Linked DNA regions of Homo sapiens: all the other regions are linked to region 1. Evidence: promoter capture Hi-C in 16 types of primary human blood cells and fetal thymus (Javierre and others, 2016). All regions are on one chromosome and are shown on one strand. Each heading gives the region's core, a stretch centred on a gene start or on the middle of the fragment in contact. The rest is flanking DNA. Distances are from core to core; before and after follow the strand shown. Region 1 holds the start of LINC01949 (long intergenic non-protein coding RNA 1949). Region 2 has its middle 120 kb from the start of MIR4280. Region 3 has its middle 84 kb from the start of MIR4280. Region 4 overlaps LOC105379066 (a long non-coding RNA gene). Region 5 overlaps MIR4280HG (MIR4280 host gene). Region 6 overlaps MIR4280HG (MIR4280 host gene). Region 7 overlaps RASA1 (RAS p21 protein activator 1).

Region 1 (3,976 bases), core at 781-3,280:
TATTTCTTATCTACCTGAGGAGCTCTTTATAGTCTAGATATGAATTATTTTGTAAGATGTATGCATCACAGATATTTTCTCCCAGTCTGTGTGCTATGGACTGAATGTTTGTGTCCCCAAAAAACTCCTATGTTGAAATCCAATCCTCCCACCCCCATCCTGCCTTCCAAAGTGATAGTATTTGGATCTGAGGCCATTGGAAAGTGATTATATCATGAGGGTGAATCCCTCATAAATAGGATTAGTGCTCTTGTAAAAAGTACTCCAGAGAGCCATCTTGTTTTTCTGCCATGTGAGGACATAGTGAGAAGATGGTGGTCTATAAACTAGAAAGTGGGCTCTCTTTGACTGGGACTGCTCAGCCTCCAGAAACTATGAGAAATAAATGTTGTTTAAGCCACTCAGTCTATGGTATTTTTTTATACAGCCAGAATGGACTAAGACACTGTAACTTATCTCTTAATTGTATTTTGGTGTCTTTTACGGAACACATGTTTTATTTAATGTTATAAAAAAAATGCATTTTGTCGTTTATGCCATTGCATCTAGCTTAAGAAAGCTTTCCTTACTGGAAGTCATAAATTCTCCTATCTTTTTCTAAAAGTCTTAAAGTTTTGCTCTTTGTATTTAAGTTTCTTTCATCTGAAGTATATTCCATGTAAATAGAGTGAGGCAGAGATCTTTCTGACTTTTTCCCATGTGACTAACCAATTATCCCGGCATTATTTGTTATTTTTTTATTTTACTCCTGAATTTTAATGTCACACTTGTCATACACCAAGTTATCAAATATGTGAATCTGTTCTGAGTTTTGTTTTGTTGGTCTATTAATTTTATTTCTGACACAATAATACAGTTGTATAATTACAACATTAGAATATCAATATCTGGTAAAGTAATATCAGTGAAACTGATTTATGAATTGCATGTAAAAATTTTAAGGCCACCATGTCAATGTAATTAGCACTGGCCTACAGATAACCTATTGATTTGACCACTTTGCTCTTGTATGTAGAAACTTTGCTTAACTCTCCTATTCCAGTTCTTCAGCTGTACAATTATTGGATTTTCTATAAAAAAAAATATTCAAATAATCAATATTTGATCTTCCCTAATCCATATAACTGGTTATTTCTTTCTTATTTCATTGGTTAGGAACTCCAGAGCAATGATGATTATTGGTGGAGATAATAAGTATTAATGCTTGTTCCTAATGTTAATGGGAATTTTATAACTCTCATACATTATTTCTAGGATAAATCATATTTGATCATAATGCATTTTTTAAAATGCTTGATTCAATTTGTCAACATCTTATGATACTTGCATGTACTCATAAGGAAGATTAACCTATAATTTTTCTTTCTCTTATTTTTCTAGTTCAGCTAACTAGAATATATTAACTTCATGAGAGAAACTACAGAATTTTCCTCTTTTTCTGTATTTTGTAGCATTTTGTGCTAAAGAGATTTTTCTGTGCTTTGAATGTTTGTTGGTAATCCCTGTGTAAAATTTTCTAGACTTACTGTTATTTATTTTGGGTAGGTTTTTGCTTACTAATTCAATTTTTCCAAAGGCTTTCTCCTCAGACATAGATTTACTCTTGAGTCAATTTTGGTAATTTAAATTTTTAGTGATGCCCACCTGCAAAGGGCCAGGTCTGGCATACAGTTTGAAATTTGCTGCCAGAGTCCCATTTTGCAATCCCGAACTTCTGGTGGAGACTGGGGTGTCCATGGCCCACTACCCAGTGGCGAGTAAACTCTTTGCTCCCAGACTGTTGCAAGAAGCTTAAAGGATGGCCTCCAGATCTGGAACAATTATGTTCTCATATTAATAAAAAGATTAACAATATTTTTAAAAATCTGTCATTGAGAAACTGGCCAAGAACCTACCTTGAAGAATATCTTAATAGGAGATGAGATCACTGTAAGAAATGAACTTCTAAATAAATTTGAATAGGAAATTCAGTATTAAGAACAAACCAACAATTCACTCAAGGAACTCTGTAAATCTCTTGAAGAATATTATAAAATGTGGAATATCTCAAAGAAAACTTTCCTTCCCATGTGCCTCAAATAACAGGTCTCAAACTCCTAGCCTCAATCAGTCCTCCCACCTCAGCCTCCCAAAGTGCTGGGATTACAGGTGTGAGCCACTGTCCCCAGCCATAATTTATTTATATTTTATTTCTTTAGCTTTTTCATCTTCTATCCTGTTTCATATAAAATTCAAACTTTTTTGGATAAATTTTTTAATCAAATGCTTCCGTTTAAGTTAGTTTTAGCATTTATTTTTATAAAATTTTAGCATGTAATTTTAAAATAATTTTTTATATTTTAAGATCATACCTGTCCATGTGACTCCAATTCAGCTGTAAAAGATCTGAGAAATATTTGATCTGTTGTCCAGGAAGAAAAGGAGAGGAGGAACATTCTTCTATCATTTCACTCTTACCTGTATATGAAGAATATACTTACCTCCCCCGAAGGAGGACAATCTGAAGTCCCTTCTAGTTAGTGCATTCAGCTCAAAGCCCAAGACATTCAAGAAATGTGTCATCTTCTCCAATACGTGAATGTTTGAATTCTCCTGAAATAAAATCCCATGAACTGAAGAAATATCCTGTCTTTACCACCACTCCCATATACACCTACATGTGAGGGTGCATGCATGCACATGAACACACACACATCTAATATACAAAATGAATCAAGGACAGAAGTAGCTATAATAGGAATCTGATTAGTAAGGGTAGGAATGGAAGGCAAGCAACAGTAACCAGTGCATATAGATCTTAAACAACAGATCGCCAAACACACTGCAGAATGATAAGAGGGTCTGAAATGTAATACATCAAGTGTTAATGTGCCAGACCTAGAAGTGGCAAATGTCACTTGGACATATTCCACTGGCTAAAACTCAGTTACATAGGCCCAGTAAAATGATAAAAAGCCTATGTAAGTTTTGGTTGTATGCCAAAAAAGAAGAGGACAAAATGGATATTGATGTGCACTAACAGTCTGTGTCATCATGGTGACATGATCCTTCTATCATGAAGTAATCAACCTCTTTAGAGAAAAATCATTATTAGACTTAAAGTTGTTTTCTAATATCAATATTACTGTCAGATCTATTTTGGTCCGGTTCCTGGTGTACAGTTTTTCAACCTATGACAGTAAGTTCTCAACGTTGTTGATAGGGTCTTGGAAACTTCAACTTCAAGTGAGATGCCATGTAACAAAACCAGTTTTACTATAGGCTAATTAATATAAACAAGAATTAGTTCCTATGGCATATTTGTATCACAAAAACATCAACAAATTTCTAAGTGAAGACTTGAAACACTTCTAATGTTGAATATTGATATAAATGTAAGCTATACATACATTTAAGAAAAATCAACAAAAATAAGTAAGCAATTTGTCCAATTTTTGGTGAATCAGTGAGTGACAGCCGTCATCCTGGTGGTAGGTTAAATCAAGAAATAAATGTTTGTAAAGTGAAAATTGTCAGGAGTACCTCCTACCAACACACAGTTCAAAAACAAACAATATTCAATAAGGCAGACTCTCTAAGCACTTTCATACAACATTTCTTATTATTTTGCATTTGTATGATTATCAAATACTTTATATTTTATCTTATAATAATTTGTATTCATTTATTCTTTCATTTTCCAACCCACTTACTCCAGTTCAGGTTACAGGAGGCCAAAGCCCATTCAGCAGTTCAGGATACAAGGTGGGAAGCAACCCTGGCCATGACACCATCCCAACACAGGGCACACTCATACATATACCCACACTCACCTTGACTGAGATCGCTGACACATGCCCACCCACCTGAAATACACATCTTCAGGATGTGGGAAGAAACTGGAGTACCTGGAGAAAATCCACACAGACATGGGGAAAAGGTGCAAATTTCACAAAGACATTAGCCTCAACCATGAATTAATTTTTTTTCCCATCAA
Region 2 (3,976 bases), core at 560-3,059, 240 kb before region 1:
ATTGTCTATGTGCCTGTTTTTTGTACCAGCACCATGATGTTTTGGTTACTGTAGCCCTGTAGGATAGTTTGCATCTGGGTAATGTAATGCCTCCTGCTTTGGTTTTTTTTTTACTTAGGATTGCCTTTGCTATTCAGGCTCTTTTTTGGTTCCATGTGAATTTTAAAATAGTTTTTTCTAGCTCCATGAAGAAGACCATTGGTAGTTTGATAGGAATAGCATTGAATCTGTATGTTGCTTTGGGCAGTATGGCCGTTTTAACAATATTGATTCTTCCTAACCATGAGCATGAGATGTTTTTTATTTGTGTATTCTTTGATTTATTTGAGCAGTGTTTTGTAATTCTTGTTGTAGAGGTCTTTCACCTCTTTGGTTAGCTGTTTCCTAGGTATTCTATTCTTTTTGAAGCTATCGTGAATGGGGTTGAGTTCTTGATTTGGCTCTCAGCTTGGATGTTATTATTGTATAGGAATGCTACTGATTTTTGTACATTGACTTTGTATCCTGAAATTTTGCTGAAGTTGTTTATCAGGTCAAGGAGCTCTTGGGCAGATACTATGGGGTTTTCTAGGTATAGAATCATATCATCTGCAAACAAGGATAGTTTGTCTTCTTCTCTTCCTATCTGGATGCCTTTTATTTTTTTCTTCTGCCTGATTGCTCTGTCTAGGACATCCAGTACTATGTTGAATAGGAGTGGTGAGAGAGGGCATCCTTGTCTTGTTCTGGCTTTAAGGAAAATGCTTCCAGCTTTTTGCCATTCAGTGTGATGTTGGATGTGGATTTGTCATAGATGGCTCTTATTATTTTGAGGTATGTTCCTTCAATGCCTAGTTTGTTGAGGGCCTTTAACATGAAGGGATATTGAATTTTTATTGAAAGCCTTTTCTGCATCTATCAAGATGATCATGTGGTTTTTGTTTTTAGTTCTGTTTATGTGAAAAATCACATTTACTGATTTGCATATGTTGAACCAATCTTGCATCCCAGGGATAAAGCCTAGTTGATTATGATGGATTAACTTTTTGATGAGCTGCTGGAATCAGTTTGCTAGTATTTTGTAGAGATTTTTGCATCTGCGTTCATCAAGGATATTGGCCTGAAGTTTTCTTTTGGTTGTTGTTGTGTCTCTGTCAGGCTTTGGTAACAGGATTACGCTGTCCTCATAGAATGACTTAGGCAGGAGTCCCCCTCCTCAATTTTTTGGAATAGTTTCAGAAGGAATGGTACCAGCTCTTCCTTATACATCTGGTAGTATTTGGCTATGAATCAATCTGGTCCTAGGCTTTTTCTGGTTGGTAGGCTTGTTACTGATTGAATTATAGAACTCATTATTGATTTGTTCAGGGATTTAATCTCTTCTTGGTTCATTCTTGGGATGTTGTATGTATCCAAACATTTATCAGTTTCTTCTAGGTGTTTGAGCTTGTGTGCATAGAGGTGTTCCTAATAGTCTCTAAGGGTTCTTTGTATTTCTGTAGGGTCAGTGGTAATGTCCCCTTTGTCATTTATGATTGTATTTATTTAGATTTCCCTCTTCTTTCTTTATTAGTCTAGCTAGTAGTTTATCTTATTAATTATTTCAAAGAACCATTTCCTGGATTCATTGATCTTTTGTATGGTTTTTCATGTCTCAGTTTCCTTCAGTTCAGCTCTAATTTTGGTTATTTCTTGTCTTCTGCTAGCTGTGGGATTGGTTTGCTTTTGTTTCTGTAGTTCCTCTAATTATGATATTAAGTTGTTAACGTAATATCTTTCTAACTTTTTGATGTGGATGTGTAGTGCTATAAACTTCTCTCTTAACGCTGCTTTGGCTGTGTCCCAGAGATTTTGGAATGTTTTATCTTTGTTCTCATTAGTCTCAAAGAATTTCTTGATTTCTGCCTTAATTTCATTATTTTCCCAGAAGTCATTCAGGAGCAGATTGTTCAGTTTTTATCTAATTGTGTAGTTTTGAGTGAATTTCTTAGCATTGATTTCTGTTAGTTCTTATTAAATAAACCTAGAAGTTAAATTACTTGTTACCAGAGTATTTGTTTATTACAGAGTTATTGGACTAATTTACAGTTCCATCAGCAGCGTATGAGAGACTTCCAGTTTCTCTGTGCCTTTACCAAAATTTCCTTTTTTAATCATTCTAATGAGTGTGAAGTATTATTATACCATATGCTGGATTTAATTCACCTTTCTTTTATAAATTATGAATTTAAGCATCTATTTATAGGTTTCCCCAGCATAGGGATATCCTTATTCATGAAGTCACTTCATATCTTGTCCGTTTTTCAATTAAGTCATCTGTGTTTTTCTTATTGATTTATAGAGGTTCTTATATCTATTCTTTTTATTGATATATAATATTTGTTCATTTTTATGCGCTACATGTGGCATTTTATTAAGTCATAGAACACGTAATGATCAAATTAGAATATTTAGAGTATCCATCACCCCAAGTATTTACAATTTATATGTGTTGGGAATATTTAAAGTTTTCTCTTCTAGCTCTTTTGAAATATACAATACATTGTTGTTAACTACAGTAACTCTACTCTCCTAAGATTGGAGTTTATTCCTTCTGTTTAACTCTACATTCATACCCATTAACCAACCTCTCTTCATCCATCCTACCCACAAACACACACACAACCTGCCTAGCCTCTAGTCTATCAATCTACTCTCTAACTCCATGAGGTCAACTCCTTTAGCTTCCACATATGAGTAAGAACATGTAAAATTTGTCTTTCTGTACCTGGCTTATATCACTTCACATAATGACCTCCAATTCCATCCAGGTTGCTACAAAAATGATTTCATTCTTTTTTATGATTGAATAGTATTTCATTCTATATATATGTCCATTTTCTTTATTCATTCATCCATTGATGGACACAGGTTGATTCCATATCTTTGTTATTGTGACTAGTGCTGCAATAAACATAGGGGTGCAAGTATTGCTTTAATATAATTTATTTCCTTCCCTTTGAATAAATGCCCAGTAGTGGGAATGCTAGATCATATTGTAATTCTATTTTTAGTTTTTTGAGAAATCTCCATACTGTTCTCCATAGTACCTGCACTAATTTACATTCCAACCAGCAGTGTACAGGAGTAGTTTCTCTTTTCTCTGCATCCTCACGAGCACCTGCTATTTTTGTGTTTTTATTAATAGCCATTCTAAAAGGAGTAAGATAGTATCCTATCGTGGTTTGATTCGCATTTTTCTGATGATTAGTGACATTGAGTACTTTTTTAATATAACTGTTAGCCACATATATGCCCTCTTTTGAGAATCTTCTATTTATGTCCTTTGACCAGTTTCTATTGGAATTATTAGTTTTTGTTTGTTTGTTTGTTTGTTTGTTTAGTTGTTTGAGTTCCTTGTATAATCTGGATATTCACCCCTTGTCAGATGAATAATTTGCAAATATTTTCTCCAATCCAATAGGTTGTGTCTCCACTCTGTTGCTTGTTTCCTGTGCTGTGCAGAGGCTTCTTAGTTTAATATAGTCTCATTTTTCTATTTTCGTTTTTGTTGCCTGTGGTTTTGAAGTCTTAGCCATAAAATATTTGCCTACACGAATGTTCTGGATTATTTCCTCTATGTTTCTTCTGGCAGTTTTATAGTTTTGGGTCCTATGTTTAAGTCTTTAAGCTGTCTTGAGTTGATTTTTCTTTATGGTGAGAGATAGGGTTCTGGGTTCATTCTTCTGCATCTAGAAATCCAGTTTTCCCAGCACCATTTATTGAAAAGTGCATCCATTCCCCCAAGGTATGTTCTTGCCACCTTTGTTGAAAAGTAATTGGCTGTAAATACATACATTTATTTCTGGGTCCTCTATTTTGTTCCATTGATCTATGCATCTATTTTTAACATAAACCATGCTGTTTTGGTTATTTTAGCCTTGTAATATATTTTGAAGTCAGTTAATGTGAAGTTCTAGCTTTGTTCTTTTTGCTCAGAATGATTTTGGCTGTTGAG
Region 3 (3,976 bases), core at 1,085-3,584, 210 kb before region 1:
CCATCTCAGCTTTAGACCCGTTCTACGCCCTTGCTGGAGAGGTTGTGATCATTTGGAGGAAAAGAGGCATTCTGGATTTTGGAATTTTCAGGGTTTTTGAACTGGTTTTCCTCATCTTTGTGGATTTATCTACCTTTGATCTTTGAGGCATTGACCTTTGGATGCGGTTTTTGTGGCATCTTTTTTCTTGGTGTTGTTGTTGTCATTGCTTTCTGTTTGCTTTTCTTTTAACAGGCCCCTCTTCTGCAGGTCTGCTGCAGTTTGCTGAAGGTCCACCCCAAACCCTGTTTGCCTGGGTATCACTGGTGGAGGCTGCAGAACAGCAAAGATTGCTGCTTGTTCCTTCATCTGGAAGCTTCATCCCAAGGGGGGCACTGACCTGATGGCAGCCAGAACTCTCCTATATGAAGTGTCTGGTGACGTCTCTTGGGAGATCTCACACAGTCAGGAGGCACAGTATCAGGGACCCACTTAAGGAGGCAGTCTGGCTGCCCCTTAACGGTGTAGGTTCACTGCCGCGGGGGGAATTCCCCTCGTCCAGATTGTCTGGACTCTTCAGAGCCAGCAGGCAGGAACGATTAAGTCTACTGAATCTGAGACCATGGCCGCCCCTCCCCCCAGGTCCTCTGACCCAGGGAGATGGGAGTTCTGTCTAATAAAACTCTGACTGGAGTTGCTGGAATTCCTGCAGAGAGGCCCTACCCAGTGAGGAGAGATGGATCTGGTTCCTACTTAAAGAAGCAGTCTGGCCATGATTTGCCATAGCCACTGTACTGTGCTGTGGGAAATTCCGCCCAGTCCAAACCTCACAGTCTCCCTAGCACTGGCAGGGGAAAGCTACTGACTAGATCCACAGTAATGGCAGTCACCCCTCCCCTCAGGAACTCTGTCATCTTGGGCCGACTCCAGGCTGCTGTGCTGGCCAGTGGAGATTCCAAGCCAGTGGGTCTTAGCTTGCAGGGTTCTGTGGGAGTGGGACCCACTAAGTGAGTCTGCTTGGTTCCCTGGCTTCAGCCCCCTTTCCACAGGAGTGGATGGATCTCCTGCCTCACTAGAGTTCCAGGAGCTGCCAAAGTATGCAAAAAATGCAGCTCAATGCCTGCCCCAAGTGGCTGCCTACCCTAGCAGCTGCCATGGATCTCCACAGCTTTGTGCTTGGGGCCCAGGGACCTGGTAGTGTAGGAACATGAGGGAATCTCCTGATCCATGGGTTGAAAAACTCTGTGGGAAAAGCATAGTTCTCCAGGTGGGTAGCACAATCCCTCACTGCGGGAGTGAGGTCCCTTTGCCCCGTGAAGCTCCTGAGTAAACCATCACCCTACCCTGCTTTTTCTTGCACTCTGTGGGTTGCACCAACCACCTAGTCAGTCCCAATGAGAGAATCCCGGTATCTCAGAAAGGCAGAATTCACTCGCTGTTTACGGTCCTCTCCTTGGGAGCTGCAGACAGGAGCTGTTTCTACTTGGCCATATCGGCCCCTCCCCTTCACAGTTGGCTTCTTCTAAGTTGTTTTTGTTTGCTTGTTTGTTTTGCAGCTGTTGTAAAAGGGGGTTGAGTTCTTGATTTTTTTCTCAGCTTGGTTGTTGTTGGTGCATAGCCGTGCTACTGATTTTTTTACATTGATTTTGTATCCTGATACTTTGCTGAATTCATTTATCAGATGTGGGAGCTTTTTCATTGAGTAGAGATTTCTAGGTATACGATCATATCATCACTAAAAAGCAACAGCTTGGCTTCCTTTTTACTGATTTGGATGAACTTTATTTCTTCTTGTCTGATGCTCTGTCTAGGACTTCCAGTACTGTGTTGAATACAAGTGGCAAAAGTGGGTATCCTTGTCTTGTCCCAGTTCTCAGGGCAAATGCTTTCAACATTTCCCCATTCCATATAATATTGGCCATGGGTTTTTCATAGATGGCTTTTATGATCTTGAGCTATGTCCCTTCTATGCCAATTTTGCTGAGGCTTTCAATCATAAAGGGTGCTAGATTTTCTCAAATGCTTTTTGTGCATCTATTGAGATGATCATATGATTTTTGTTTTTAATTATGTTTATCTGATGTATCACATTTATTGTTAATCCTTCCCTGATCCCTGGTATAGAACCCACTTGATCATGGTATATTATCTTTTTAATATGCTGTTGGGTTAAGTTAGCTAGTATTTTCTTGAGGATTTTTGGATCTATATTCATCACGGTATTGGTCTGTAGTTTTCTTTTTTGTTATGTCCTTTCCTGGTTTTGGTATTAACGTGATACTGACTTCATAGAATTATTTAGGGAGGATTGCCTTGTTCTCTATCTTTTGAAGTAGTTTCAGTAAGATTGGTACCGTTTCTTCTTTGAATGTTGGATAGAACTCAGCCATGAATCCATCTGGTCCTGGACATTTTTTGTTGGCAATTTTTAAATTATTGTTTCAGTCATGCTACTTGTTATTGGTCTGTTCAGAGCTTCTATTTCTTCCTGATTTAACCTAGGAGGGTTGTATATTTCCAGAAATTTATCCGTCTCCTCTAGATTCTCTAGTTTTGTGTGTAAAAGTATTTATAGCAACCTTGAATAGTCTTTTGCATTTCTGTGGTATCAGTTGTAGTATCTCCCTTTTCATTTCTAATTGAGTTTTCTTGGATCTTCTCTCTTCTTTTCTTGGTTAATCTCACTATTGGTGTATCAATTTTGCTTATCTTTCCAAAGAAACAGCTTTTTGTTTCATTTGTCTTTTGTATTTGTTTCCATTTCATTTAGTTCTGCTCTGGTCTTTGTTATTTCTTCTATTCTGCTGGGTTTGGGTTTGGTTTGTTCTTATTTCTATAGTTCCCTGAGGTGTGAGCTTGAGGTTAAGATTGTCTGTTTGCACTGTTCCAGACTCCATGATGTGGGCATTTAATGCTATAAACTTTCCTCTTAGCACAGCTTTTGCTGTATCCCAGAGGTTTTGATACATTGTATCACTATTTGTTCAACTCAAAGAATTTTTTAATTTCCACCTTGATTTCATTGTTGACCCAAAGATCATTCAAGAGCAAATTATTTAATTTCCATGTATTTGTATAGTTTTAAGGGTTCCTTTTGGAGTTAATTTCCAGGTTTTTTCCACTATGGTCTGAGAGGATACTTGATATAATTTTGATTTTCTTAAATTTACTGAGACTTGTTTTGTGACCTATCATATGGTTTATCTTGGAGAATGTTCCATGTGCTGAAGAAAAGAATGTATATTCTGCAGTTGTTGGATAGAATGTTCTGTAAATATCTGTTAAGTCCGTATGTTGTAGGGCATAGTTTAAGTCCATTGTTTCTTTGCTGACTTTATGTCTTGATCACCTGTCTAGTGCTGTCAGTAGAGTACTGAAGTCCCCCACTATTACTGTGTTGTCATCTATCTGATTTCCTAGGTCTAGTAGCAATTGTTTTATAAATTTGGGAGTGCCAGTGTTAGGTACATATACATTTAGGATTGTGATATTTTCCTGTTGGACTAATCCTTTTATTATTATATAATGTCCCTCTTTGTCTTTTTTTATTTTTTATTTTTTTTCTGTTGTTGCTTTAAAGTCTGTTTTGTTTGATATAAGAATAAAAGAATAGCTATTCCTGCTTGCTTGGTTTCCATTTGCATGGAATATCTTTTTCTACTCCTATACCTTAAGTTTATGTGAGTGCTTATGTTTTAGGTGAGTCTCTTGAAGACAGCAGATACTTGGTAGGTTGATATTTATCCATTCTGTATCTTTTAAGTGAAGCATTTAGGCCATTTACATTCAACATTAGTATCGAGATGTGAGGTATTGTTCTATTCAATACTAAAGCTGTTGCCTTAATACCTTCTGTTATTTTTTTCATTGTGTTATTGTTTTATAGGCCCTGTGATCTTTATCCTTTAAGGAGGTTCTATTTTGGTATATTTCCAGGGTTTGTTTCAAGATTTAGAACTCGGCTGGGTATGGTGGCTCACATCTGTAATCCAAGCAC
Region 4 (3,976 bases), core at 578-3,077, 190 kb after region 1:
CTTGCAGTGAGTTGCATTAAAGTAGGGGTCCCAAGGGTACAGGACTCTCTGAGCAAGCTACAAAATGTTGTAGCAGGTAGCAAATCATTCAGACCCCTCCTGCTACAAACCTGGAGTCTTATTGTGGTCACTTTGACCTACTTAGTGCCTATGTGTCCCTGATCAGTAACAGGGGATGGATAAGGCTAGTAATCTGGCACACAGAGCAAGAACATGCAAGCCTGATCAGGCCCATGGCAGATGACATTTTCTAATAGTATCCAGGTATCATCTTTTCCTGTTCAGGTACAGGAGCCCTCTCTTCTTTATTGTAAAATGTACCATTCCTGGCTAATTTTATATCTCTTACTCAAAGAAAAAGGCATTAACATTGTTATTACTCATAAGGTCATGGCTTGCTGGAACCTGCTTATATTGAAAAATATAGATCTTGCCTCTGCAGTTCCCTAATACCATTTATTTAATTCTGGTTACATGATTGCTCATGACTTTGCATCATCCATAGTGCTTTCCATGATTACTGGCCCCCAAAGACTCTCTTAAATGTTGTTACTATGTTTTATTGATGATGAACAGAAATGTAAACTTACCCAGACTATGCAGAAACATGTGAACAACAATTCATTCTCCATTCATGTTAAATTTCTCGTTTTGAATTTTAATGCATAAGCATAGAACAACATGACTTCCAACTATATTTTCTCTTGAACTCCTTAGGCTATAATCACTGCACACATAAAACATGATCTTCTTAAAAGTTGACTCTCTCTTCCTTCTATACACTGCCACCAGAGGAGAGAACAGATGAGGAGTTTGAGGGGAAGGGGAATGGGATAGGGAAAGAATGGTCCAATTTGTGTAAGGAAGTCCATCTTACAAAAGCATGGCATTACCACAGTGATCAATAGCCAGAGTAGATATAGATCCAAAGGCCTTAGAGTAGATAATATGACCAAATCCCAGAGAACTGCCAGACATGGGGCATGGAACCTAAAGAAGGGGTAGGTATCTGCCACAGGGATGGCCAAGGGTACATAGGGTAAAGAATACTCTTCAGTGCTGGATCAAAGGTGGTACTGTGGTCACAACAGAGGTGAGTGTGAGCCCATGTTCTAGACCACACACTCAGATCAAGCTCAAGTTTTAGCAGTAGATTCTTTGTAGCTCTGAGTCCTGAACTTGTCTTACATCGATAAGAGAGTCGGCCAACATCTGCTGCTTGTTGGTTCCATTCTGAAAACTCAGTCTTGTGTGGTCCCACAAAAAGAAATTCTGTGCTGACATTGGGAGTTACCACTCTTCAGTCTGCTCTCTTGGATTAGAGGTCAGGCAGGGGTCTCAGGACAATCCCATCCGCATGAGCCCTAGGGTTCCATGGGCATTTGGTAGAACCCAGGTCCTGGAAAGTTGGTTGGAGAAATACCTTAGTGGAGAAATGGAGAATGAAGACCTTGTGTTTTATGATCTGAGCTTGGAGAACCCTGATTGGATGGCACTGCTGGTCTAGCCACTACCAGGCATAGAGGAAGCTACAGAAAATGTAGAGAAAAACACTCCAAAGTGTGAGATCCTTCTAGAACTGGAAATATGCAGGCCTATGTACTATAGTCTGAATGCTTTTGTCCTCTGAAAATTCAAAGATGGAAACCTAATCTCCAACGTGATGGTATCAGGAGGTGGGGCCCTTTGGGAGGCAATTAGGTCATGAGGGCTCCTCAGCATCCAGATAAAAGGTTACTGTCCTTATAAAAGAGACACTATGAGGCTTGTTCCTTCCCTCTTCCACCACATGAAGACACAGCTAGAAGATGTCATCTATGAGGGAAGGGGCCCTCATCAGACACTGAATCTGCTGATGCCTTGATCTTGAACTGTTCACCTTACAGAACGGTGAGTAATAAGTTTCTGTTGTTCATAACATACCCTGTATATGGTATTTTGTTATAGCAGTTTAAATGGACTAAGACATTGTGCCTATCCAACATCTGACACCACCATTTTAATATTTTAATTCCTACTTTTTATGTTTTTAAACTTTTAGACTTGAAAATCAATTTCATTTGTTTATTCTTTGCTCTCTTTCCTCTTTCAAAATATTGCACCACTCAGAATTTAATATTAATTGAAAATGTTTTTTTTAAATGTCAATAATTCCCGAAGATACTATATTTAACCTGGGAAAATAAAAGACATTCTATGTCTTTGGGATGAGAATTGAATCACACCAGAAACTACACTCAATAAATAGTGCTTCAATGTTTCCCACACTGCTGTTTAAATATGTATACTTAATAGTTCTATTTTCTAATTTTATATGGATGACTCAACAAATCTGTAGTTGCTAATTAAAATAATTCTGTAGTTAAGTAAAATTTGCATATAATAGATGTATTATCCTATCAAAGTATTAGACAAACTTTTGTTTTTATAGAAGTTTGTTGTGATCATCCCCATTATTTTATTTACTCCTCACAATAAGCTAATAGGTAGATACAGGCCATGTAAATAGCTGGCTTTAATAGATGAGGAAACTAAGGTGAGGGACTTAAGGTCGTCAAAGGTTATATATTTGATGTCACAGTCATGAACAGAACTGGGCTTGCTGGACTCATCTGATGCTCTTGTGCTTCCAGCAACTACCATGTTCTTTCCCCAGGCATACCTATCATGATTAAGATAATGTTTATTCTGAGTCTTTTTGATGTTTATCATGTCAAAAAAGATAACATGTCATTTTTCTTTCTTTCTTGATGCCTATGTTGCTTCAAGGGAATATAGTTTTAATATTCAATAGTGAATATTAAATACATCTCTTACACATGATATATGACAAGAAATCTATATTCTGCATTCAGCGTTGTACTGTTACCCAACATTATGATATATGTGTCAATGCAGAGAACACAACGGATTGGATCCTCCTGCCAGTCACCTTTTAACTACCTAAATTTCACAGCTTCTCAGGGATGCAGGCAGAAGAATCTTGCTGCTTGTTAGCTTTGATGCCCCCATGTCCCTTTCTTAATTCCGAATAAAGAACAAAAAGATTAGTATCCTTATGTGGTTGGTAACTGATAAGCAGAACAGTTTTCCCCATTTTCAAAAGAAGTGATGCTGTCATAACCTGCTCCTAGGGTTCCAACAGGACTTCCTGTCATTCTACAAGATTCCAGGGATAGGTTCATAATGATTGCTTAGGTGTGCAGGCTGACATTATAAAGCTAGGGGATAGTGCAGTGTAGTGGGGAACAGCAAGAGTTCTGGAGTTAGACGAAACTAGGCAGACTCTTACTTTGCTGTTTACTGCTTGTGTGATGTGGTCAAGTCTTGTACCTACATTGAGTTCATTTGGACCTACATCAACATGTTTGTTTTTTTTTAAACTAGAATTTCCCAAATGAAAATCATTTAGTATTCTTGAAATGACTTGAAACTGGTTTCTCTGACAGTAGACTCTTATCATCAAAATCTCTAAGGTTCTAACTATGATTTTATGATAGCCCATGTTCATCTATAGATGGTTGAGGGAGAAGTAAGTTCAATGAGTTCTGGGAACAGAAATCCAACATTTTACACAAGTCCTTTCTAGTTCTTTGTTTTCTTTCTTTTTTGATGATATAAGTTCTGTTTCAACAATACTTTTTCACAATATCTAATGTAATACATAGGAAAAAGAGATGTGGCAGGGCAATAGAGTATGGTACAAAAAAGTAGATGTAAAACCCTTTTATAAAAAACTTTTTTTAAAAAAATAAATCATGTTCATGAACTTCAAGGCCTCTCAGAGAAATGGTGCTGCTTGCCAAAGTCCTCTGCAGAAGTGTGTGTGATAAAAGTGTTACAGGTCCAATCTGTCTTTATGGCCCTGTTCCTTCCTTCTTCGTCACAAATACCACATACAGTTATTAAATTATATCTGAATTTATAAAAGATTGAAGAAAACAAAAAGCAATGGAGAAAGAATTGTAAATGAGAG
Region 5 (3,976 bases), core at 1,046-3,545, 190 kb before region 1:
TGAAAAATAAAAATATGAATTCCAAATAGTTGCATTTACAAAACACTAAGCCATGCTCAACAAAACTTTTTTTAGGAACTCAATCTTAGAAATGTTTTCTAATATTATTCTTTCATAAATGATAGTTAATAAAGAATAAGCATCTTGCATTTATGTTTTCAGAAGGACTTATAATAATATTTAAGCAAACATGCTCATCAACAGAGAGAAATAAGTGTCTGAAGAACAGTCCCACAGGAAAATCATTTTTTAAATAAATTTTATCCTTTTATGACAGCCATTTTAGTACCATATATCTTAAAAATTAAAATAATTACTCTGAAAATGCCCTACTGCCCATTAGTTGTGGTGGCGATACTTTAGAACCACTATGAATATCATCAGCAGAAGGCTTGTGCTTCCACAAAACCGAATATCATGCAGATATTAAAAGAGTAAGTCAGCCGGGTGCCTAGATTCCTGTATTCAAGGGCAGGAAGCATCCAGCACAGGAGAAAGATGTAGGCTGGGAAGCTAGGCCAGTCTCACTTTTTCATATTTTTCTGCCTGCTTTATATTCACTGGCAGCTGATTACATTGTGCCCACAAGATTAAGGGTGGGTCTGCCTTCCCCAGCCCACTGACTCAAATGTTAATCTCCTTTGACAACACCCTCACAGACACACCCAGGATCAATACTTTGCATCCTTCAATCCAATCAAGTTGACACTCATACACATCTCATACACATCTCCTGAAATCATACATAATCTTTAAATAAAGAAAATAATAAGGTCATAATTAGGCCTAACATAATACAACTATCTTTAGTACAACCGGAAACACACCAATCCCCCAACTCAAATACTATTATGTAAAGTTAACAATACTTCAATTCTGAAATGAAATCAATAAATCTTATGTCACATGATGAAGTCAAAGGAAATAAAATGAAGATATTTTCTTAGTACAGCTGTATACATCTACAAACATGATTTTAACAAAAGGAGGAAATACTCATGACAGTTACAGTCCTCATTTCTGCAGCTGGTCATGTGGTTCTAGCAGGTATTGATAACTATCTTCTTCTACTACCCATTCTGCATTCCCTTTGCCTTCAGCAAGCACCTCAGCAGGTCATATTTTTTTCCTGGTATAGTGACCCAAACCTTCATTCCTGAGGGGTCTGGACCATTTGTAGTCCTTCCTGGATTGAGTTATTGTAGTTTCCCGTTGACCTTAAACACAGGGCATGGTAATACTAAGAGATGCCCTAATGGATCTCCTGTATTCCATGTATACTCTTCCTTACCTCTGTTTTGGAGCAGTAGACTGATTTCATCTTGATGATCTGGGTCAGTCACCCCAGCCAACAGTGTAACTCCCTTTTTAGCCTGTTGACTTAAAGGTAGGAGGATCCCAAAGTGTCCAGGTGGCAATCTTTAACTACCAGTTTAATGGAATCATTGTTTTGTCTCCTGGTGGCACTATTCCTCCATCTGGAACTAAGACCTATAGGCCAGCAGAATGTAATGTCACAGGAACATGAAACAAAAATTTTGCTATTGGAACACTAGGGGTGATGGTGAGTGGTGCCACTTCCACTTGCAGCCCTTGATTCCTGGACCCATGAATCCTGTCTATGGGAGAAACAGTACCATATACTGGACACTAATTCAGAGCATACACGGCCTTCTGGAGAACTTTGCCCCAGCCCTGCAAAGTAATGTCACTGTACACTGTTGGCACTGTAATTGTGACTTCAAAAGGCCATTCCACTGTTCTGTCAATCTAGCTGTTTCAGGATGATGAGGAACATGGTAAAACCAGTGAATTCCATGAGCATGAGCCCACTGCTGCACTTCTTTAGCTGTAAAGTGAGTGTCTTGGTCAGAGGCAATGCTGTGTGGAATACCATGATAGTGGATAAGTATCGGGGGAACCAGCCCCCAATATTTCAACATAGGTTCTTTTCTATTTTCCCTAAGTGTCAGCTGGTCTGAGAAATAAAGGGAAAGAGTACAAAAGAGAGAAATTTTAAAGCTGAGTGTCCGGGGGAGATGTCACATGTCGGCAGATTCTGTGATGCCCCCTGAGCCACAAAACCAGCAAGTTTTTATTATGGATTTCAAAAGGGGAGGGGTGTACGAATAGGGTGTGGGTCACAGAAATCACATGCTTCAAGGGCAACAAAATATCACAAGGCAAATGGGCAGGGCAAGGTCAGAAGGCCAGGGCAAAATTAGAATTACTGATAAGGTACCCTGTCCCACTGTGCATGCATTGTCATTGATAAACATCTTAACAGGAAACAGGGTTCAAGAGCAGAGAACCAGTCTGACTAGAATTTCGCCAGGCTGGAATTTCCCAATCCTAACAAGCCTGGGGGTGCTGTAGGAGACCAGGGTACATTTCATCCCTTATCTACAACTGCATAAGACAGACACTCCCAGAGCGGCCATTTTAGGGGCCTGTCAGTGGGAGTGCATTCTTTTCCCAGGGCTGTTCCTTGCTGAGAAAAAGAATTCAGTGATATTTCTCTTATTCGCTTTTGCAAGAAGAGAAATATGACTCTGTTCTGCCCCGCCCCGCCCCGCAGGCAGTCAGACTTTATGGTTATTTCCCTTGTTCCCTGAAAATCACTGTTATCCTGTTCTTTTAGGATGCCCAGATTTCATATTGTTCAAACACGCATGTTTTACAAACAACTTATACAGATAACATAATCATCACAGGGTCCTGAGGTGACATACATCCTTACTTTACAAAGATGATGGGATTAAGAGATTAAAGTAAAGACAGGCATAGGAAATTATAAGAGTATTGATTGAGAAGTCAGAAATGTCCATGAAATCTTCACAATTTATGTTCAGAGACTGCAGTAAAGACAGGCATAAGAAATTATAAAAGTATTAATTTAGGGAATTAATAAATGTCCATGAAATCTTCACAATTTATGTTCTTCTGCTGTGGCTTCACCCAGTCCCTCTATTCAGGGTCCCTGACTTCCCACAACAGATAATGCATTCCATGAATCCATGGATGGAGTCTTGGCAGAAACATTGCATGCAGGATAGGCAAACCCATATCCAGAGTAAGTGTCTGTTCCAGTGAGGACAAACCTCTGCCCTTGCTATGATGGAAGAGATCCAATATAATCAACCTGCCACCAGGTAGCTGGCTGATCACTCTGAGGAATGGCGCCATATCGAGGGTTCAGTGTTGGTATCCGCTGCTGGCAAATTGGGCACTCAGCAGTGGCGGTAGCCAGGTCAGCCTTGGTGAGTGGAAGTCCATGTTGCTGAGCCCATGTGTAACCTCCATCCTTGCCACCATGACCACATAGTTCATGGGTCCACTGGGGAATAAGAGAGGTGGCTGGGGAAAGAGGCTGAGTGATGTCCACAGAACAGGTCATCCTATCCACTTGATTATTGAAATCCTCCTCCGCCAAGGTCACCCATTGGTGAGCACTCACATGAGATACAAATATCTTCAGTTTTCAATCACTCAGAAAGGTCCATCCACTTACCTCTTCCCCAAATTTCTTTGTCACCAATTTTCCAATCATACTTCTTCCAAGTCCCTGACCATACAGCCAAACCACTGGCTACAGCCAATGAATCAGTATATAATCGCACATCTGGACATTTCTCCTTCCAGGCAAAGTACACAACCAGGTGCACTGCTCGAAATTCTGCCCACTGGGAAGATTTCCCTTCACTGCTGTCCTTCAGGGATGTCCTAGAAAAGGGTTGTAATGCAGTGGTCTACTTTCAGGTAGTGCCTGCATATCATGCAGAATCATCTGTGAACCAGGCCTTAGTCTTCTCTTCCTCTGTCAACTAATCATAGGGAACTCCCCATGAAGCCACTGGTGCAGGCTAGGGGAGAGGAGGCAGGGTGGCAGGAGTGGAGACCATGGGCATTTGAGCCACTTCTTCATGTAACTTATTTGTGCCTTCAGGACCTTCTCAAGCCCGATCAAGTATACTTT
Region 6 (3,976 bases), core at 996-3,495, 170 kb before region 1:
TCTTGCAATAGAAGGCTGCTTTGTTTACATTGAAAATCTGCTGTTTAGTGTAGCCACCTTCATCAATGATCTTAGCTAACTCTTCTGGACAGCTTGCTACAGCTTCCACAGCAGCAGTTGCTGCTTCACCTTGCACTTCTAGGTTATGGAGACAGCTTCTTCCTTAGCCTATACTAGGTTTTAATCTTTGCTAGCTTCCTCACCTCTATCAGCCTTCATGGAATTGAAGAGAGTTGGAGACTTTCTCTGGATTAGGCTTTGGTTTAAGGAAATGTTGTGGCTGATTTGATCTTCTATTCAGACACAAAAACTTTTCTTCATATCAGTAATAAGCATGTATCACTTTCTTATTATTCATATGTTCACTGGAGTAGCACTTTAATTTCCTCCAAGAACTATTCCTTTGCATTCACAACTTGGCTAACCAATTGGTGCAAGAGGCCTAGCTTTCAAACCTGTCTCACCTTTCCACATGCCTTCCTCACTAATGTTAGTCATTTATAGCTTTTCATTTAAAATGAGAGATATGGTCGGGCGCAGTGGCTCACTCCTGTAATCTCAGAACTTTGGGAGGCCAAGGACCAGTGGATCACTTGAGGTCAGGAGATCGAGATCAGCTGGACCAACATGGTGAAACCCCATCTCTACTAAAAATACAAAAAAAAAAAAAAGCTGGGCATAGTGTTGGGCACCTGTAATCTCAGCTACTAGGGAAGCTGAGGCAGGAAAATTGCTTGAACCCAGGAGGTGGAGGTTGCAGTGAGCCGAGATAGTGCCACCGCACTCCAGCCTGGGCGACAGAGCAAGAATCTGTCTCAAAAATAAATAGATGGATTATAGATAGATAGATAGATAGATAGATAGATAGATAGATAGATAGATAGACAACTCTTCATTTCACTCAAACTCTTAGAGGCCATTGTGGCATTATTAATTGGCCTAATTTAATATTGTTGTGTCTCAGGGAATAGGGAGGCCTGAGGAGAGAGAGAGAGATGGGAAACAGCTGATTAGTGGAACTATCAGAACATGCACGTTTATAGATTCGTTTGATAAAGAACTTTTATAGATTAAGTTCTATAGAGAACATTTATAGATTAAGTTCTGTTAAGGTGGGTCCAGTTCATGGTGTCCCAAAACATTTGAAATATAATAGTAATATCAAAGATTACTGATCACAGATCACCATAACAGATATACAAATAATGAAAAAGCTTGAAATGTGCAAATTACTAAAATGTCACCCAGACAATAAGTGAGCACATACTGTTGGAAAAATGATGCTTATAGACTTGCTTGATGCAGGGTTGCCACAAACCTTCAATCTGGAAAAAAATGCAATATCTGCAAAACACAGTAAAGCAAAGCACAATAAAATGAGGCATGCCTGTACAAAATCAATACAAGGCAATATAAAGAAAAAATATCAAAAACAAAAAGAACACAGAAGAAAAATGTGACTAAGGAGAAAAAAAAATCAAATAATAATACATTCATTAAATCATATTGTGAAGCTGTAATAATTAAAACAGGAGGTAGTGACACGAGTAGACAGATAGATGAACAGATTAGTAAATTCAGAAGCTGACCCAAAGACATATGTGAATTTAGTATATGGCAAAGATGTCATCTCAAGTCAGCATGAAAAAGAGGTACTGTTTAATAAATGGTGTTAAAGCAGCTAGGAAAACATCCAAAAAATGTTTACATCAAATCCATACTTCACACCATATACCAAGATAAATTTCAAATAGAGCAAAAGTTTCAATTCTTACCAAACACTGCTAGAAACAAAACTTAATAATGTGTACATACTTCCATCATTGGCCATCTATGAGGATATTTGATGCCCCAGCAATTGATAATTTCAACACTTTTAATAATTGCAAATCAAATGAGTAGAAATATGACACCTTGTTTTACATTTGCTATTCTCTGGTTACTGCAGTTTAAATATATTTTAATGTGTTTATTGACCATTTGAATTCCCTCTTTTGTGAATTTGCCTGTTTGAATCTTTGTCTGCTTTTTTATTTTGTTTTATTTGGTTGTTTGTCTTTTTCATATTGATTATTTTAGGATTCCTTTTTACTTTCTAGAAAGCAGTCCAAGTTTGCTTTGTGTGAGGCAATTAGTTTCTTCTATATCATTACTTATCTTTTAATTGTATATATGGTATATTCTGATGTGCACCTGTTTTTAATTTTGATGGAGTCAAGTTGTCATTCTTTTCCTTTGTGATTTTTCTTTTTTGTGTCTTGTCGAGGAGGACTTCCTGACCTCAAGGTCAGAAAGATGTTCTATATTGTCTACAAAGAAGGAGAAGAAAACAGAGAGGAGAAAGAGAAAGGAAAAGAAAATATTTAATTTTTATAGTATATATTTGATTCCTATAGTATAGCAAAGCACATAAGAAAAATAAAAGGCAAATGACAAACTAAGGATAATATCTGTAATGTATATCACAGGCCAATCTTTTTTTTTTTTTTTTTTTTTTTTTGAGACAGAGTTTCCCTCTTGTTGCCCAGGCTGGTGCGATGTTAGCTCACTGTAGCTGTTCAAGCCATTCTCCTGTCTCAACCTCCTAAGTAGCTGGGATTATAGGCGCTACCACACCTGGCTGATTTCTGTATTTTTAGTAGAGACAGGATTTCACCATGTTGGCCAGGCTGATCTCGAACTCCTGACCTTAGGTCATCCACCAGCCTCAGCCTCCCAAAGGGCTGGGATTACAGGCGTGAGCCACCTTTCCCAGCCCCAATCTTTATAATATAAAAACAATACTGGAAAGCCACAAGAATATATAGCAACACAAAAGACAACTGTCAAAATACATTATCAGTTGATAATGATAGAACTGTTGATAGAAAATGAAATACAAAAAACTTTAATTGGATAATAGAAGAAATACTAATTTAGAATAAGCTATGTTTCACCTAACAGATTAACAAAAACCCTTAAATTTTGACAACAGCCCATTGACAAGGCAATGGAAAAACAGATACTTTCAGTTATTGCTGATGAGAATATAAATTGGCACGAGGCCTATGGAAGGCAATTTGAAAACTTTTTCTAAATTACAAATATATACAACTGTTTATTCAGCAGTTCTATTTCTGACAATGTATATTAAACTTACATATATGAAAATAAACAATATGCATTGCAGCACTGTGAGAGCAAAAAACTGGACTATTTTAAATTATCAACAGGGATCCGATTAGAAAAATTATATCTGTACAACAGCATCCGACGCTGCTGTAAAAAAAGAAAGAGGAAGCTTTCCATATACTGATACATAAAGATCTGTGAAATGCATTGTATGTTTTTTGTTTGGGGTTTTTTAATGAAAATTAAGATGTACAATGTGGTGTTTTGATATACATACTGAGCTGATTACTACAGTCAAGCTAATTAATATATCCATCTTTTAGTATAGTTGTCTTTTCTCTGTGTGTGGGAGAGTGGTAAGAACACTTAAGATCTACTCTGTTAGCAAATTTCAAGTGTACAATACAGTATTAACTATTATGTTGTGCACTGCAGCATTATTCACGATTACCAAGATATGAATAAATTATTATACACACACACACGTGGAATATTATTCAGCCTTAAAAAAGAAGGATAGCCTGCCATTTGCAACAACGTGGATGAACCTGTGGAATATTACGCTAAGTGAAATAAGCCCACACAAAAAAATGCTGCATGATCTCACTTATAGGTGGAATCTTAAAAAGTTGAATTTATAGAAACAGAGAGTTGAATGGTGGTTACCAGGGATGGAGAAGTGGGGGGAATGGGGAGGCCCTTGTCAAGGGGCACAAAGTTCCAGTTGTATAGGATGAATAAATTCTAAAGGCCTACTATACAGCATGATGGCTCTAGTTAATAATAATATTGTATATGGGACCTGTATTGTTAATTTAACAAAGCAACTTGTGGAACAAATGGGTAGGAGACAGAGTTTTGTGCT
Region 7 (3,976 bases), core at 670-3,169, 150 kb after region 1:
GTCAGTTTTAAACTAAACTTATTAGTAATTCAGTTCATATACAGAGAAACCAGGAAGGTGCATGTACATGTGAATAGAGCCAGGTGTAAGGCATGGCATTAGGGAGTGCTAGGATTGGAGATTGAGGTGTCCATGTTCTGTCTTAATGTATTCAGATTCAGTTAAAAAGACCACCACAATTTGTGGCAAACAAATCAGGAATGCCGTTGAGTCACTAGTTTGCAACCTCAGGTATAAAAACTAGTGTATGAAAAATTATGGCATAGCTCCATATTTATAGTGAAATTTATAGTGAAATGGACAAAAATGCTAAAAGTCCATCATGCTTCTATATGTGAACTGGGATATAGTTGGTCAATCATTGGAAAATATTTTTACTATAATGTTTAAGGAACTGTGTGAGAAGTTATGCCACACAATCTAAGATTTCATACTGCTTAGAATCCAAATATAATACTACCATATTTCTTCACCACCTGTATAATAAGCCAAATTTATTTTTGAAGACCCACCTCAATTATTATCTCCTTCAGGAAGCTTTTGCTGAACCCCAAACATGAATAAAATAACTTTTGTTTTACCTCCTAAGCATCCCCTGTGTATCTGTGATATATAATTCTGTGTTGCTATGATTACTTTATTCTAAAGTCCTTTCTACTGGAGTCAGTTCTCTGAAGGCAAATATGGAGTCTTTCATCGCTATAAACCTTTAATCACTGAATGTATTCTGAGTAACTGTGTTTCTCTGTCCCATAGATAACATTGTTTTGCAGTTTTTAGCAATGTAAAGCAAATACTGTCACCATTTTACTGGTAATCCAAGCCCTTGTTAAATGTTATTCCAAGGCTTAAAATAACACTGGCATTTAGTGTCGATAATAAAGTACAGGTTGAGTATCCCTAATCTGAAATCTGAAATGCTAAAAAATCCAAAACTTGTTGAGCACCAACAGGAAATGCTATTTGGAAAATCTCCAATTTTGGATTTTTGGATTGGGGATGCTCAACTGGCAAGTATACTGCAAATATTCCAAAATCCGAAACACTTCTGGTCTCAAGCATTTTGGGTGATATTCAACCTATACTATAAACTTTCATTATAGTGACTAAGTTACTTTATGAACCTTATCTGAAAGTACCATAATTAACACTGATTATTCCCACACATTAGCAAGTATTCTGAGCATAGTCCACAGATAATTGCAAACCTGACAGGTTCTCATTGCATTTTCATAGTGCAGTTCCTACTTATATGCATTATCAACTTAGACAAACTACAGGAGCTTAATAATGAAATTTCATCTAGGAATTTTAAGTTTAGGCTGCATTTAATCCAGATTAGCAGTTAACCTACACTATTTGGCATATGTTCTAGATTTTTTCAGATACAAAGCTAATTGTTAGGAAGCCACACCCCCCACCCCTTATTTTTAGAATAGCAATAATATTGTACACATCTGTCATGCTACGGAAAAAAATGGAATCTGGCTTTCATGTGAATACAAAGGTTACAAAGTCTATATTTTACCATCATTAATACTGAATATTATATTTCAATAAGAATCTTTAGAATTTTAAGAGAAATTTGAGTATTAAAAAAATTATCTAATATACCCAATTAGAATCTTTTCACATGAGACTACAGAGAAAGATTTGTATTTGTAACAAAAAATTAGCTGGGCATGGTGGCAGGTGCCTGTAATCCCAGCTACTTGGGAGGCTGAGGCAGGAGAATCGCTTGAACCCGGGAGGCGGAGGTTGCAGTGAGCCGAGATCATGCCATTGCATTTCAGCCTGGGCAACAAGAGCGAAACTCTGTCTCAAAAAAAACAAAAAAAAAGAAGATTTGTATTTCTAAATGCAATTTTACGATTCCCTTAAAGAATGTACCTGAACTTCCGGACACTACAGAGCATTCTAGAACGGACCTGTCCCGTGATTTAGCAGCATTGCATGAGATTTGCGTGGCTCATTCAGATGAACTTCGAACGCTCAGTAATGAGCGTGGTGCACAGCAGGTAGGCTTTCGCCAGCCTTCATTAACAATGATGTTTCAAAGATAACACTTAGAGAGTTAATAAATAGCTGAATTCTGGTTAACATTTTTATCTTGTTACATTAAATTTTTGAGACTCTGCATCATATTACAAAAGATCTCAGCAGACAGAAATAACGGGCCCCGACTAAAATGATGTACATTTAATACTGAAAAACATCAGGTTTTGCTCTTGAGTCTGAATGTTAATTCTACTGGAAAACAGTGTAATAACACTTTGGTAGCATGTGTGAAAATGGCTAGTTAGTAAGTCAATATTGATTTTATTTTTTTTTCTTTCAGTTTCTGTCTTGTCTTTTCTCTGTCACATACAGATATAGTGCATGGCCAAAGTGATTCTCAAACTGTGAAACAAATGATTATTATTTGGGATGTTTGTCAAATTTCACATCCAGAGGTTCTGAAGTGTGGCCTTGAAAGCTGCACGTCTAACAAACTCTTAGAGGAATTTATAGGTATTCCGATGCAAGTGAACCATGGCCTACACTTTGAGAAACAGTAGACTACATTGATAGACTTCTATCTGCCATCTGCACCAAACAGATACAGATAAGGATGTATTCAAAGACCAGACCAGAATTTGAAGGGACTTAATACCAGGTCAATTAAGATATTGGAGATATAGAACAAAATGAGTTACACTTTGAATGTCCTCAGCTGACATAAGGGCTACTGAGAGGAAGTGACCACAGGGACAGTTTTGACTAGTTTCTAATGTAGTTTCAGGAGATAGTGAATGCTGTCACCGCACTGGCTAACCATTTGGCAGGGATTTTGTAGAAGGGATTAAAGCATTGAGTTTGGTGACTGAGTTCTCTACAACCTGAGATTCTAGAATCCTCAAGTCCTGTTTCTCCCCGCCCCTCCCCCCGCAGCTTTCAAAACTAATAATATGACTTGACTTGCCTTAGATATTAAATAAAAAAAGCCTTTTTTAAAAGAGAGATAAACTGCTTCTGACAACATGTGATAGTGTGATAGTTCTGGCCTAAAAAATAGGAGCATGCCAAACACAAACAAATTTCTGTTCACTTTAGGGTATAAAAATTCTCTTAGTTATGACCAGAAATACTCAGCCAATGACTGAATAATAGAGACTTATGTTTTGAGGGGAATTGTGGTAATATTTTATGCATCCTTTTGCTTTGATACAGTTTTTTTCAAATCCAGGTTCCCATCCTGAAATTGCTGACCGAGCTTTCATTTATTTTCATACCATTTTTCCTCTGTCTAGCACGTATTGAAAAAGCTTCTGGCTATAACAGAACTGCTTCAACAAAAACAAAACCAGTATACAAAAACCAATGATGTCAGGTAGCAGCCTTCGCCCCAGTGTTCTGCATGGATTCAGCATGTCCAACATGGTAATTCACTTCAGTTTAATGTCTCCTTTGCTCTTGCCAAAAAATAGCACACTTTTCCACATTCCAGTGATGTGTGAGCTATGCAAACAAAATCCAAGATTCTGCTGGTGAATAACTATGCCAGCAACCTTGTAAGCTATCTGTGCAGGATATTTGCACTATTTCCACATGGAATCAATCTTTAACAACCTCTGAGCCTTGGTGTACAGACCACCTTTCACAAAACGAAATGCTATGACTGTATCTTGATATCTCGAACTTTCAAAATATATTTTCAGTACACCCAGTTGCCAAAGTTTTGCTGTCTCTTAGAGAAAGAACTATGAAATCAACTGACAAGAAACACATTCTTATTGACAATTGTGTATAACTGGATTGCAGACTGTTCTTACTGTAACTACTTCCTGATTAGGAATATGACCATTTGACTGTTCAATGATTATTTGTATTTACAGTTTCCAGAGTTTGTCATTATAATAGGAACAATCTTTGCTGTATACTTTTAAAAAATACTCTGCTATTTCTCTTGCTGGAACTGTTGAAAGAAAATATATAG

The links. The method cuts DNA at HindIII sites, captures the fragments that hold promoters and counts their contacts. A CHiCAGO score of 5 or more calls a contact.
Region 2: a fragment that was not itself captured here is called in contact with the fragment with the promoter of LINC01949 in region 1 in 6 of 17 cell types (M0 macrophages, M2 macrophages, M1 macrophages and 3 more); the score reaches 9.5 in M0 macrophages.
Region 3: a contact is called between a fragment that was not itself captured here and the fragment with the promoter of LINC01949 in region 1, in 3 of 17 cell types (M0 macrophages, M1 macrophages and M2 macrophages). The highest score is 10.7, in M0 macrophages.
Region 4: a fragment that was not itself captured here is called in contact with the fragment with the promoter of LINC01949 in region 1 in 2 of 17 cell types (neutrophils and activated CD4 T cells); the score reaches 5.3 in neutrophils.
Region 5: a fragment that was not itself captured here is called in contact with the fragment with the promoter of LINC01949 in region 1 in 3 of 17 cell types (M2 macrophages, M1 macrophages and M0 macrophages); the score reaches 8.3 in M2 macrophages.
Region 6: a fragment that was not itself captured here is called in contact with the fragment with the promoter of LINC01949 in region 1 in 11 of 17 cell types (M0 macrophages, M1 macrophages, M2 macrophages and 8 more); the score reaches 27.6 in M0 macrophages.
Region 7: a fragment that was not itself captured here is called in contact with the fragment with the promoter of LINC01949 in region 1 in 3 of 17 cell types (M0 macrophages, activated CD4 T cells and M1 macrophages); the score reaches 6.7 in M0 macrophages.

Annotation. Positions count from the first base shown.
Region 1 is chr5:87,237,171-87,241,146 of GRCh38, forward strand. It overlaps LINC01949 (long intergenic non-protein coding RNA 1949), which reads right to left and starts at 2,031. Exons shown (of 3, transcript NR_130914.1): 1 at 1,896-2,031; 2 at 1,645-1,811. All of the region lies in intron 2 of LOC101929380 (a long non-coding RNA gene), which reads left to right. The HindIII fragment of the contact is 4,009 bases long and covers 1,789-3,976 here.
Region 2 is chr5:86,993,430-86,997,405 of GRCh38, forward strand. No RefSeq gene overlaps it. Among named protein-coding and RNA genes, the nearest start is that of MIR4280, 120 kb to the right of the region's middle. The HindIII fragment of the contact is 6,669 bases long and covers 1-3,976 here.
Region 3 is chr5:87,029,460-87,033,435 of GRCh38, forward strand. No RefSeq gene overlaps it. Among named protein-coding and RNA genes, the nearest start is that of MIR4280, 84 kb to the right of the region's middle. The HindIII fragment of the contact is 3,962 bases long and covers 354-3,976 here.
Region 4 is chr5:87,430,829-87,434,804 of GRCh38, forward strand. All of the region lies in intron 1 of LOC105379066 (a long non-coding RNA gene), which reads left to right. Among named protein-coding and RNA genes, the nearest start is that of CCNH, 20 kb to the left of the region's middle. The HindIII fragment of the contact is 6,327 bases long and covers 1-3,976 here.
Region 5 is chr5:87,046,834-87,050,809 of GRCh38, forward strand. It overlaps MIR4280HG (MIR4280 host gene), which reads right to left. Exons shown (of 2, transcript NR_186582.1): 2 at 2,073-3,976. It overlaps LOC645261 (PP565), which reads right to left. Exons shown (of 3, transcript NR_188227.1): 3 at 2,073-3,976. Among named protein-coding and RNA genes, the nearest start is that of MIR4280, 66 kb to the right of the region's middle. The HindIII fragment of the contact is 5,407 bases long and covers 1-3,976 here.
Region 6 is chr5:87,064,472-87,068,447 of GRCh38, forward strand. The region is part of intron 1 of MIR4280HG (MIR4280 host gene); the gene reads right to left. It overlaps LOC105379065 (a long non-coding RNA gene), which reads right to left. Exons shown (of 3, transcript XR_948540.3): 3 at 2,030-2,309. Among named protein-coding and RNA genes, the nearest start is that of MIR4280, 48 kb to the right of the region's middle. The HindIII fragment of the contact is 2,066 bases long and covers 1,213-3,278 here.
Region 7 is chr5:87,387,510-87,391,485 of GRCh38, forward strand. RASA1 (RAS p21 protein activator 1) reads left to right here. Exons shown (of 25, transcript NM_002890.3): 24 at 1,884-2,018; 25 at 3,291-3,976. The coding sequence ends at 3,374. It also overlaps a transcript of CCNH not described here. Among named protein-coding and RNA genes, the nearest start is that of CCNH, 23 kb to the right of the region's middle. The HindIII fragment of the contact is 2,768 bases long and covers 536-3,303 here.